2 separate regions of the Homo sapiens genome follow, and region 1 is linked to region 2. The links are contacts of gene promoters, found by promoter capture Hi-C in blood cells and fetal thymus (Javierre and others, 2016). All regions are on one chromosome and are shown on one strand. Each heading gives the region's core, a stretch centred on a gene start or on the middle of the fragment in contact. The rest is flanking DNA. Distances are from core to core; before and after follow the strand shown.

Region 1 (5,786 bases), core at 629-3,128, 230 kb before region 2:
CTTAAGAACTGTGAAGGTTTGATATTTTACTCTATTTGCAATGTAACAAGTTATACTATCACAATTTTGTGGACGCTGGCAAAAGATAGGAGACTCCTGGATCAGAGACAAAGGACTGTATTACTCACAGCACAGCAGGCAGCATGAGCTCCATGTTTATGTCCACTCCCTTTGTTGCCCTCTCCTCACAGGGGCTGATGTGAAACAGCCCAGATGAATGCAACAAACATAGTGGGTTTGTGTCACAGTTGAGGAACCCAAACTAAGGGAACTCAAATCTTTTATAATGGACTGCAATAAAATCTGCCCAATCTTTATTTACCCCAGAGAAAGGCATTATTTTTATTATAATGGACACTAAACACACCTATCCTCTGCTCTACTTCCAAGACTGTTTACTACACAAACATCTTCGAAATGATAGTTCAGAATAGAGTGTCTGTGCTGACAAGTTGTGCTAACACACAAGAGATCTGTGAAGAACAATCTCCAACAGCGGCACTAATGAAACTGGCTAAGATCCTAAGTGGAAGCATATTCAATTCACTAGGAAGGCTGAACACTCATTTTCACAGATGTGATTTTGAATTAGAACTGGTGCATGGCATGGATATAAACATGGGAACCACAGACACAGGGGATCACTAGAGTGAGGCAAAACAGAGAGGGGTAAGGGCTGAAAAACTACCTATGGGGTACTATGTTCCCTACCTGGATGATGGTATCATTTGTACCCCAAACCCCAGTGTTACACAATATATCCATGTAACAATCCTGAACATGTATCCCCTGAATCTAAAATAAAATTTGAAATAATAAAAAAGACAAAAATGGCTTAAAAAATAAAAATACAAAGGAACTATTGTATGGTAGCATTTATTTGCATAACACTTCTTGTAAGCAGAGGTGCGTTTCTGTATAATATCCCTTAACAAATACTTTCGTAGATAATGAAATCAAGTCAAAGGGGTTCAACTGTGTTCTAGCTTTCTGGAGGAATTTGAGGATTGTTGGGAGGTGAGGTCTAGAGTTCAGATCTCTAAGCTTTCCCATGTAAGACTTCCAAATGTTGTTTACTATATAGGTTCTAAGTCTTCAGGTGTCAGGAATCCATTTGAATAATAACAAAAGCTATGAATATTCTCTCCAGAAAAAAGCACATGTCCAAAAGCCTATGAAAATTGCAAAGCATTTCAGTAGATTCTGAATTTCTCTGAAGCCTACTGATGGACTATGAGCCACTTAAACGGTCTGGAGACCTTAAGTTAAAATCAGTCTGAAGATCAAAGGTTACCATAACATTTAACTCTTCTACCAGTGTCATCAAAACATCCAGTTGCTAACCCAAAGTAGCTTACTTAGCCAGATATCAATTAAGTATTAATAACATCTCCACCTATCCAAAACATGACCCCAAATCAGGAGGTTAAAAACTACTAGCCAGAACATATAAACATCAATGCTTCAAAGATGTAAAATCCAGCCAGGCATGGTGGCTCATGCTTGTAACCCCAGCACTTTGGGAGGCCAAGGCGGGTGGGTCACTCACTTGAGGCCAGGAGTTCGAGACCAGCCTGGCCATCATGGTGAAACCCTGTCTCTACTAAGAATTACAAAAATTAGCCGGGCATTGTTGTGCATACCTGTAATCCCAACTATTTGGGAGGGCGAGGCAGGAGAATCACTTGAGCCCAGGAGGCAAAGGTTGCAGTGGGCGGTGGAGGAAAAAAAAAAATACAGGCTGGGCATGGTGGCTCACGCCTGTAACCTCAGCACTTTGGGAGGCTGAGGCGGGCAGATAACGAGGTCAAGAGATCAAGACCATCCTGGCCACCATGGTGAAACCCTGTCTCTATTAAAAATACAAAAATTAGCTGGGTCTGGTGGTGCACGCCTGTAGTCCCAGCAACTCTGGAGGCTGAGGCAGGAGAATCTCTTGAACCTGAAAGGTGGAGGTTGCAGTGAGCCAAGATCACGCCACTGCACTCCAGCCTGGCAACAGAGTGAGACTCCGTCTCAACAACAACAATAACAACATCAAAAAAGACACAAAATCCTCAGAAAAAAGGACTGAAGATTGTTCCTTCATAGCATGATTTTAAAATGATTTATGATCTTTAGAAAGGGCACAAATTAGAAGTGAGAGAATAAAAAGAGACAGGCATCATTAATGACTGCAATGAATAATCAATAACTGTGACATAAAACAATTGCAATGCAACAACAAAACCAGAAAGAACAAAAAAATTATTTCAGTCTTGATTTCTTATTAAAATGGCAACAGCATTCTATAAATGTCCACAGGTCTCAGGAATGACTATTTGACAACAGAGCCACTAATGATAAAAAGGGGCTTCTTTCTGTTTTATATTTTATATATTCTGGCTGAAATGATGGGAAAGAATATAATGGTTGAGAACACATAATACAAAAAATAATTAGAATGAAACAGCTCAATTTCCTAAATGTCCTTAAGTACTTTACATCTGAAAAGGCAAACTCAGGTACGTCTTTTTTTTTTTAAACTAATAAAAGGACAACACTGAAAAAAAAAAAAAAAGAAGAATCTTTAAAAGAGAGACTAGCATATTCTCCCCAATAGTTTTGTAACCATATCTCAAGAAATCTTATTTCCCACAGGTTTTCTAAGAGATTTCCTTTTTCCCACAATTGCTTGAATTTCCCTGCTATAAATCTCTGCAAGCCACTGAATGAAGCTTTACAAAGGCATAAATAAAAGAGTAGGAATGATCCACACTGAAATAACCAAGCCAAAATAGACTTGAGAAAAAAAGAATGTAGAGCAATTTTTTTTCCACCTATCAGGGTATCTGGTTCTTTAAATGATTACCCTGACTTGGTTTTTAAATTTTTTTTTGGGAGGTGGTTAGGCCATTAGTCCCTTAAAAAGTGATGCCATGATTCTTGGTAGGATATCAGTGGCCAAATATATACAGAAACATGATGGCAGCTGCTGTTTCTGTGATCAAAAATTCATAGTAGGTTTCCTTCCTTCCTTCCTTCCTTCCTTCCTTCCTCCCTCTCTCCCTCCCTTCCTTCCCCCTTTCCTTTCCTCTCATTCTCCCTCCTAATTTTTTAACCATTCAATAGATGGCAGATATATGGCATGCCAGTAAGAATTATGTCTATCTTCTTCACAATTTTGTTTGTGGCACAACTTTTGTTGCCTAGAATGTGCTTAATAAATATTTGCTTGAGGAAGTAAGTGAATCTATTGAACACCAAACACCAAGCTAGGCACCGAAGTTGAAAAATCCTATCCCACAGGTTCATCTGGGATCTGCAAAACTGTGTTTAGGGAAACAGATCAAATTGAATCTATGATTGTACAGAGTGGGGTCCTTTTTCCCAAAGCAGGACAAGAGGTGTTTACTAAGTTATAAAATAGAAATGTTCTGGCTCTGATTTTGAAAACGTGGAACCTACTGGAATGGGCAGGTTGAATGAACATCCCTGAAAAAATGTGGCATTCTCCCTACTTCTAGAGTAAAGGCAGAAAACTCTTCATCTGATGGAAAGAGGCCCCTAAGAAAGGCTGAGTGACCAGAAAAGCTTATTATTGTTGCCTTGCGGGTGCCTGAACACTTTGCTCAGTCATGTCATCACTGGCCAGGGTGGGCTCCCTTGGACGCGGAAGTTTCCCTGCATCATTTGGAGCCAAGTTCCTGAGTGCCCCCATGGGTTCCTATACAATTTGGGTCTTTGTTGAATTCACAGCAGCTGCTTGGCTTTCCTGTGATTCTGTGCTAGAGCTCTGGGTGAGGAAATCCAGGCTCATGCTGGACCTTCTAAATGACTTCCAGTGACTTGGATTTAAGTGTCAAAAGTTTAGAAAATATTCAGTTAATAGTCATTTGGGAGGTAGGACATCATTGCTGCATTAACGGCCTTAAATTTGCCTACATTTCAATGCATGTTCAATACCTTACTATTAACCAACCTCCCAAATAGCAATCTCAAAATGGAATAATCCATTTACTCTAAGCAATGACCAGTGCATCAAGTGTTAGGAGTCTCTTCCTGAGCTGAGTGACAGACACTTTAACTGCCGCTCTCTGCAAACACTTGCTGCTTGAGTCAGGAGAACCCTGCTCTGGCACACAACGCAGATGCCTGCAGAAACTGCACAGAGCTGCCTGGCCTGCCTGAGCATGAAGCAACCCGAAAAGTCCACAGGAGTCATAGGAGCTTTCTAACTTCTGGACAAAATGAAGCGAGTCATATTGAATGTCACAGAGACCAATAGCAGGTTCTCTTGCTTGAGAAGCATCCACTAACACCAAGAGCTCAAAATTTTTTTAAAAAATTATACTTTTGTTTGCATTTTTACCCAGCTGACCTAGCCAGAAATTGCAAACAGATTTTTCTCAAGTATGATTAGATTTGAGAGGCAAGACGGCATGAGTCAGGAGTCAAAGAGCTAAAGGATATGTGTCTAAAGAGATGTGGGACAGTCAGTGTTCAGATTAAAGTAGAAGAGATTTCTTCCTTTGATTGAAAATTGGAAGAAACAGACTCTCATCTTTATCAACACTGGGAGGCTCTGAGTTTCCAGTTTACGGCACTGCTCTTAAGAAGCCACCAGCATAATTTCAAGAACAGGAACCATGATGGCTTCTTAATCAAATTAAATAGCAAAATGAAAGCAATAATTACTCAAATTTACTTGGCAAAATAGCGAGACAAATTAATTGAAACACTACTTTTGATCACAAGGATATAATTAGAAAAGTCTTTGGTGGATGAGAATATCTCTGAGGCATGAATTAAATCAATTGGATAACCTGATTATAAAGCCCTTATGCTTAATGGGTAAACCCAAACTTACTGTTGCGGAATGTAAAAGGAAGAATAAAGATTGATCAGCCAATATGCATTTAAATGGTCCTGTCCAACTGCAAACATTACTGGGCTTTTATTATGTGCCAGATGCTGTGACACTATGTATTCTTATCATTTATACTGTTTTATTCTCTCAAAAAGCAATAAATAAAAATCAGCATTATTAACACCTGCCACGACTGTCCCTCTGTCCACAACCACAGGCTACACTGATGATAGGACCACAGACAGTGAAGTCTGACAAAAGAAAGAAAAGACTAAAATGCCTTTTCTCCTTTTTATCTCATCTTCCTCTTACAAATCCCACTACTTCTCAGTAAAATCAAATCTTATAAAACTCTAAGTGCATCTAAGCTGAACCATAAGAAGCACGTGGCATTCCCTGGCAGCCATTATCCCTTTGAGCGGACACATGACAAAGCTGGCCCAATTAGAGTGAGGAGAGAGACTCTGATTCCATTTCTGGGGAGAAGCTTGTCCTCTCCTTTTGGCATGAACAAGGATGTTTAAAGCCACAAGTGCCAAACGCTCTTACAACCATGGGGAGAACTAACGTCAAAATGAAGCCAGCCTACAGATGGCGGATGGTTACAGCCAGTCTACAGACAGTTCTTCCTGAACATGGGCCCTGGAAAACATCTTTGAGCTCCTGAGTCAGTCAAGTCTGTAGCTGACCTTAGCTCCTGCCTTGCTATAATAAGAGATCTCACACGTTCTTCCTGAACATGGGCCCTGGAAAACATCTTTGAGCTCCTGAGTCAGTCAAGTCTGTAGCTGACCTTAGCTCCTGCCTTGCTATAATAAGAGATCTCACACGTCTTCTTTGTTTTGGCCTGTTTGAGCCAGACTTGTATAACCTAAACCTAAAGCATCCTAGTCTATACAAAACATAATGAATGTTTGTTAAGCAAGGCAAGTACAAA
Region 2 (6,108 bases), core at 1,290-3,789:
AAGCAGCAATTCTGACAATAATCTTGACTTTGGCAACCTATCATCAAAGCCATTCCAAATCTATTTCTCTTATGCATTCCAGGTGTCATTTATAATAATCTCAGTAGACAACTGAAACATAACTTTTAATACTGCTTTGGGATTCCAGTAAACAACTCAAGCTCAGCAAGTCACTTACCCCCAAGAAACTGAATTCCTCCAGCCACTCTTCCCACTGTCCTGGAGATGAGGTCGGAAACACAGCAACCCATGAGGGCAGTGAGCGCCACCAGGAGGAGGAGGCCACAACCCAGGCCGGTCACTATGGTGCAGATCCTCCATTCTGCGCTGGGGATGCCCTGGAAGGAGGCATAGCGCCCACATTCCTCCACCATCACCATCATCTGCCGACTCTCATCATGCACAGGATATGAGCACCTCCGGAAGGTACCGAAGGACACAGGCTTGCCCAGCTGTGATCCCCAGAGCCAGTAAGGCATAAAGAACCCCACGCAGGAGGTGGCAGCACAAAGAAAAGACAGCAAAGCCCAGATTACTCCAGTACAAGTCAGGCTGGATGCCATCTTTCACCAGATAGGGCAATGAGGACCCCAAGTAAGTGTTCAGGGACTGCAGGAGTGAATGAAGGTGTGAAATCACCAGGGACCCACAGATAATCCACAGTTCCGTAATGCAGAATGGATCTTCAGTCTTACTGGGCATCAACTTTCCATCCTCTGCACTAAAGATGATGGTCCCTGGTAAAACAACAGGAAACATTAAAAATTAAAGGCATTAAAAGAAGTGATAACACTGTTTCAGCTAGTCTACAATTTTCAATTAATAAACATTGAGACTTGCCTCAACACTTTAAAAGTGGGAAGAACTAATTCTCTCTATGAGCTTCATAACTCGATTTTTGTCAAACCAGCTCAAAGCTTTTTCATGTCTTTATCTTCCGTAAATATTTCCAAATTAACTCTGACAGCTATTTACTTAAAGAAACGCCCGATTTTTATTTGACAGGCCAATGAATTCATTCTATATATTATATACTCACATTAAAAGTAATGTAGCACTTTCACTGGGCAATAAACAATTAAAATAAAATGAACCATGCCATGATTTCCATTTTTTGGCTTGCAAGTTCATGCTCATAGTTTGTTGCAACTTTTCTATGTCCCTTTAAGGGTGCATTAACTCTCTGCATGAGCCAAACAAACTAATTAGGATAATTTTTCACAATTGCAGAGTACCATAAATTTAACAAGCATTATGGTCTGCGGAGGCACCCACAGTACAGAACTATTACCAGACACTCTTTGTACTCATTCAGCAGCATTTCAGAATTTCTTTAGTCTTAACATCTTCTAGTGTAAAAGAATGCCTGTGTATGACTTATTTTGAGTCTGCAGTTTTGATTCATTGATTCCAACAGTTCTATTGCAATCATTTCTCCCACTGAATGATTGTCTAATTTGAACAGCAATCCATACTTCCCAGTATGCTACATCAAACCCCAGTCATCCAAATGGTTCCAGGGGCATCTACTTCCACCCCAGCCTTTCAAAAAGAGTTCCTTAACCATTTCTCACACTTTCCATAAAGAAATGAATACAGAAGCACAGAGCCCATCCACCCTAGAATTCCACCCCCAGGACCCCTAACTCCAGCTTTCAGGGTCCATAGCAAATTTCCCCCTTTCTTCACCTCGCCCCTACCCGTTTTTTTCTCTAACCACCGCCCATTTTCAGTTCTGGATGTCACTCAAACGGGAGGTCGGCTACTACTTTTTTTTCTAATCTTGTCAACTGCAGTCAGGGCTGAAGTTGATCTATCTGGGCCACGAGGCTGGGGAAGACCAGCAGGGGGTGGCCTGCGGGCAGGGGGCCCCCATCTCCAACTGCGGTGAGGCGCCCTCGCCAAGACAAGCCCATATTTAGCCCCCTGCCATTGCCTCACCGAGCCACTCCACCCATGGAGACACACAATGATCCCTCCATTCTAAAAGGGGGCAAGAGGCATTTTCCAGCCGGCTCTGGACGAAGGGAGGGGATAAGGATGGGAAGGCAGCACCCCCCGGAGGCAGACGCCAAGAGCGGACGCGGCTGGCAGGCAGAGCCGACGGATCCGCCGAGCTCAGGAAGTCCGGAGCCCGGGAGCAGCCCAACTCCGGCTCCGGGGCAGAGAGGGAGCCCGGGAGAAAGCAGCGGAGCCCACGCCCACGGGGCAGCCGAGTGATTTACTTACATGGCTGGCGGGCGGCGGCCACCTTCCCTCCCGCGTCCCGGGCGCACACACAACTTGCTGTCTTTCTCGGGCGGGAACATCCACGGGAAACCGGACCGTCCTGCCCTTCTTTGCCTCTGTCCCTAACAGCCGCAGAACCCCGGGGCCCGACCTGGAAGAGCAGGGGTTGGCAGGAGGCGGAGGGTCTCCAGAAGCGGGCTGGCACCAGCGGAGACCCCCACTCCCGGCGAGTCCGCGGCGGCAGCTCTGGCGGAGCGCTGTGGGCGCGCGCGGGCGCCGGGGATCGCACGCAGAGGAGCGGATCTCCCTTTGGCAGGCGAGGCACGCACCGCCTCCTCCCCTCCGCTGCCCGGCCCTCCTCTTTCTCCAGTCCCCTCCCCTCGCGCCCCGGGGAACTCCGCGCAGACAGACCCAGGACGCACCGGGGACGTTCCTGGAGCGCCGGGAAGGGAGTGGGGGGGTGCCCCGCTGTCCGCGCGGGTCCAGGCCCACCCCCGGGGGCAGCTTTCGCGGCTCCTCCCCTAGCCCCGAGCCCCCTCGCGCCCCCTCTCCCTGCGTCTCATTCAAAGCTGAGTGGGGAAGGCAGACAGACCGAGAAGTATGGGAGAAAGTTGCTTGTCTTCCTGGGTGACCCCGAGGAGCCACGGAAGATGACACACTTTGCCTGTTGGGGCTTTTCTGGGTTTACTGTTCGGGTTTATGCTCCTGTTTTCCTGCCGCCGTTAAAAGAAGCCGTAGACGGGAAAGAGGGCCTTAAAGAGTGGGTAAAGTGGCCCCTTTGAGATTTGAGGAGGCTTTTGAGAAGTGGTCACTTTGGAAGGCGGTGAATGAGGCGGTTGTGGACGTGGGAATTAAAGCACAGCAGACAGCCCAAGGCTCATGTATGGCATGGGGGCAGCTGCCTTTCCAGACGAGCCAGGGAGAAGGCAGGGGCGGACCTCTAGCGAGCCTCTCCCAAGAGATACACTCTTTCAAAGGTCTCTCTCTCTCTCTCTTGCTGTTTCTCTGTCTCTCTCTCCCTCCCTCCCTCCCTTTCCCTTCACTTCCTCCCTCCCTTCTCCTCCATCCTGCCTCCTGATCAATTTTGCAATTTATTCCATCGTTTGATTTCTTTTCTGAGAAACAACTGATTTTTAGTTCCCCTCTGGACTTGAGGACTTTTTCCACTTGTCATTAGCACTAACCCCTTTAGAAGTTTAGAGCTAGATTCAGTAGATGACTGTGGGAGTCTCTGCTGAACACAGTATTTTAAGAAGTATGCCATCTGGGAACAGCAGTTTTTGAAGTAGACAGTTTCCCAGATATAGTTTTTGTGAGGTGTCTTTTTAGAGGAGTTGAAAGTAATAAATTGGTAGGTATATATTTCATAGCAGATTTTCAGACTGCACCATTTTAATTAGCCGTGATGGTGTACATTTTTCCCACAACGACAGCTGGAGATATGTGTTCTTTTATTATTATTTTGAAAGACCTTAAGTGATTGATTCCAAGCCTTTTGAGGTCACAGGTCTTTTAAAAAATACGATGAAACTGATAAGCCTTCCAGAAAAAAAAATGCGCGGACATATAAAGCTTTACCACAGCGATTCTGAAGAAGGAAAGGGATATTTGGCAAGGTCTGAAGATAATTTTGATTATCATAACCCATGAATGGGGAGTATTACTGGCATCTAGTTGGTAAAGACCCGAGATTCTGCTAAATACAGTGCACAGGACAGTCCCCAAAATTACCTGGGCCAAAATGTCAATCATTTGAATGAAATATCAGGTGGTTTCCCATTCCCTTAAAGCCCATCCATGAATCCCATATTCAGAATCCCCAATTTAAGTGTTTTTGTTTTTGGTGTTGTTGTTGAGTTTAAGTTGTTTTAACTCTTCTCTTACAAATCACCGGTTACTGGTTTCAGTGACAGCATAAGAATGATTGGTCTGACTTCCAGTTAGGTACCACACCCTTAGTTATTACACAGAGCCTTCATACCTATATAATATGATGGTGGAAGATATGATCATAAAAGACAAAAGAATAATAGTGAGAATCGGAGTCACCTCCGTACAACCTGCAGGGGAAATTGCTCTCAAACACTTTCTTAAGTGTGAGAAAGCTTAAGCGCAAGTGCTGGCTGGAGACATATTAATGATAATCATGGTTACTACAGATTGACTCCTTGCTGTGTGTTAGTACATTAAGGTCCCTTAATAGATTACTTATCCAGTCCTCAAAAAAGAAAAGAAAAATTATGAAGAAGGAATAATTATTATTTTACCGCAAGGATAAGAAGTAATTTGCCCAAAAATTTACAGCTAAAAAATGACTTTTAAAAAAATCTCATTATTTGCACTCTCTTAAGCAGAGTAAATGCTATCACAGAGATTCTGCCTAAAATGAAAAAAAAAATGACAGAAGAGGCCAAATTTTTAAAAATCTTTCAGGATGCAATATCAATTATTTGTGAAAGTATAATACTGGGACTCAAATTTCTAACTTAAATAAGTGAATTCAGACAAATGGTGATCTTCCCAAGCCCTAAGTTATCTCATTGTTAAAAAGAGATTGAAATAGGTTATTTTAATTTTTTTTAAGCTCACAACTTCCAGCATCATGGTTATATGGGTCCTCTTATCTTTGAGAAGGAATTTAGAGATCATCTAATCTTGTTCAAGTATGTAATTTTACAGCTGACAAAACAGAGGCTCGAAATTCTTCCAGTGTCTTACCCAAAGCTGAGGCTATAATCCACATATCTTGATTTCTCTTTCTAATTATCTTACTAAACTATAATATCTTCTGAATTACTCCTTATGTTCTTCCATGCACACTTTGTAAGCAAAATGCATTATAATTTATTTAAGCCCCTTTGCATTAAATTTGTACCTTTAAAGGACCATTAAATTACTTCACAGCCAGAAGTTCCCACATAGCAGATGCCACTTATAACACCTATTCCAGGTTTGGGTTTCCAGTATGTTTGGATAGTAGTCTCATTGAGTCACAAGATGAGATCATGAATGCGACAGTATATGGAAAGCTATAAAGTGTTTATGACAACACTCTTGGTTGGCTACCCAGTATTAATTCACAATCCCCTCTCCCTTCTCACCAGATACTCTTCTAGCATCCCTTAAAGCAAGTAATGGCCACTTGATCCTGCTGTAGCCAATGAGTTTGCTAAGGAGGCCTCTGGGGAAGATTGTATTCTCTGATAAAATAAGGAGACGTGAGAGAATAGTTCTCTCACCATCATGACTGTCTTCGGGCACATTCTTGAAGGTGTTTAGAGCTCTAGCAGCCTTCTTGTAACCAGGTGGGGGGTCACAGAGACATACTCCCAGTGATCTAACATTGTAGAGCTTCTCACCTCCATTTGAATTATTTAAAAAGTAAATTATAGATTTTTAATATGGTTTAAATCACTATGAGTTGAATTTTCTCCTTTTAGTAGCTAAAAGCATTCCTAATTGATAAAGCATGGTATAGATAAGACATTTTCAATGAGAGGAAATATACATCAGTGAACATTGTATCTCAGTGCTTGGCAATGTAGACAGATACTCAATAATCAAACAGTAATTGTGGGATTTAATGAACAAATCAATATCATCGTGATTACTATCCTTGTTCTAATGCAGCCTACAGAGTGGGTATTTAATTTTTAAACAAATGGTATGCTATGTGAAATTAGGGAAGGAGCATGATAATGAAATATCGAGAACATAATGAAATCAATCACTTCTGACTACCAGAGAGAGATTGGAAAGGGATTTAGTCTGTCCACAATTGTGGCAAACACTACAGTTTGGCTGATATCATTTCCAACTCACTTCTTTTACATTGTTATCTCCTACGAAAGCAGTGAAAGCTAAAATCTCCACGTCCTA

Evidence for each region. Contacts are between HindIII fragments. The CHiCAGO score rates a contact against its expected background, and 5 or more counts as called.
Region 1: a fragment that was not itself captured here is called in contact with the fragment with the promoter of LHFPL6 in region 2 in 1 of 17 cell types (endothelial precursors); the score reaches 6.5 in endothelial precursors.

Annotation. Positions count from the first base shown.
Region 1 is chr13:39,366,563-39,372,348 of GRCh38, forward strand. All of the region lies in intron 3 of LHFPL6 (LHFPL tetraspan subfamily member 6), which reads right to left. Among named protein-coding and RNA genes, the nearest start is that of LHFPL6, 230 kb to the right of the region's middle. The HindIII fragment of the contact is 1,673 bases long and covers 1,043-2,715 here.
Region 2 is chr13:39,600,654-39,606,761 of GRCh38, forward strand. It overlaps LHFPL6 (LHFPL tetraspan subfamily member 6), which reads right to left and starts at 2,540. Exons shown (of 4, transcript NM_005780.3): 1 at 2,230-2,540; 2 at 179-737. The coding sequence starts at 563. LOC112268119 (protein SPT2 homolog) reads left to right here and starts at 671. Exons shown (of 4, transcript XM_035861111.2): 1 at 671-740; 2 at 1,797-1,887; 3 at 1,991-2,989. The coding sequence starts at 671. RefSeq lists a silencer at 2,435-2,734. The HindIII fragment of the contact is 2,884 bases long and covers 916-3,799 here.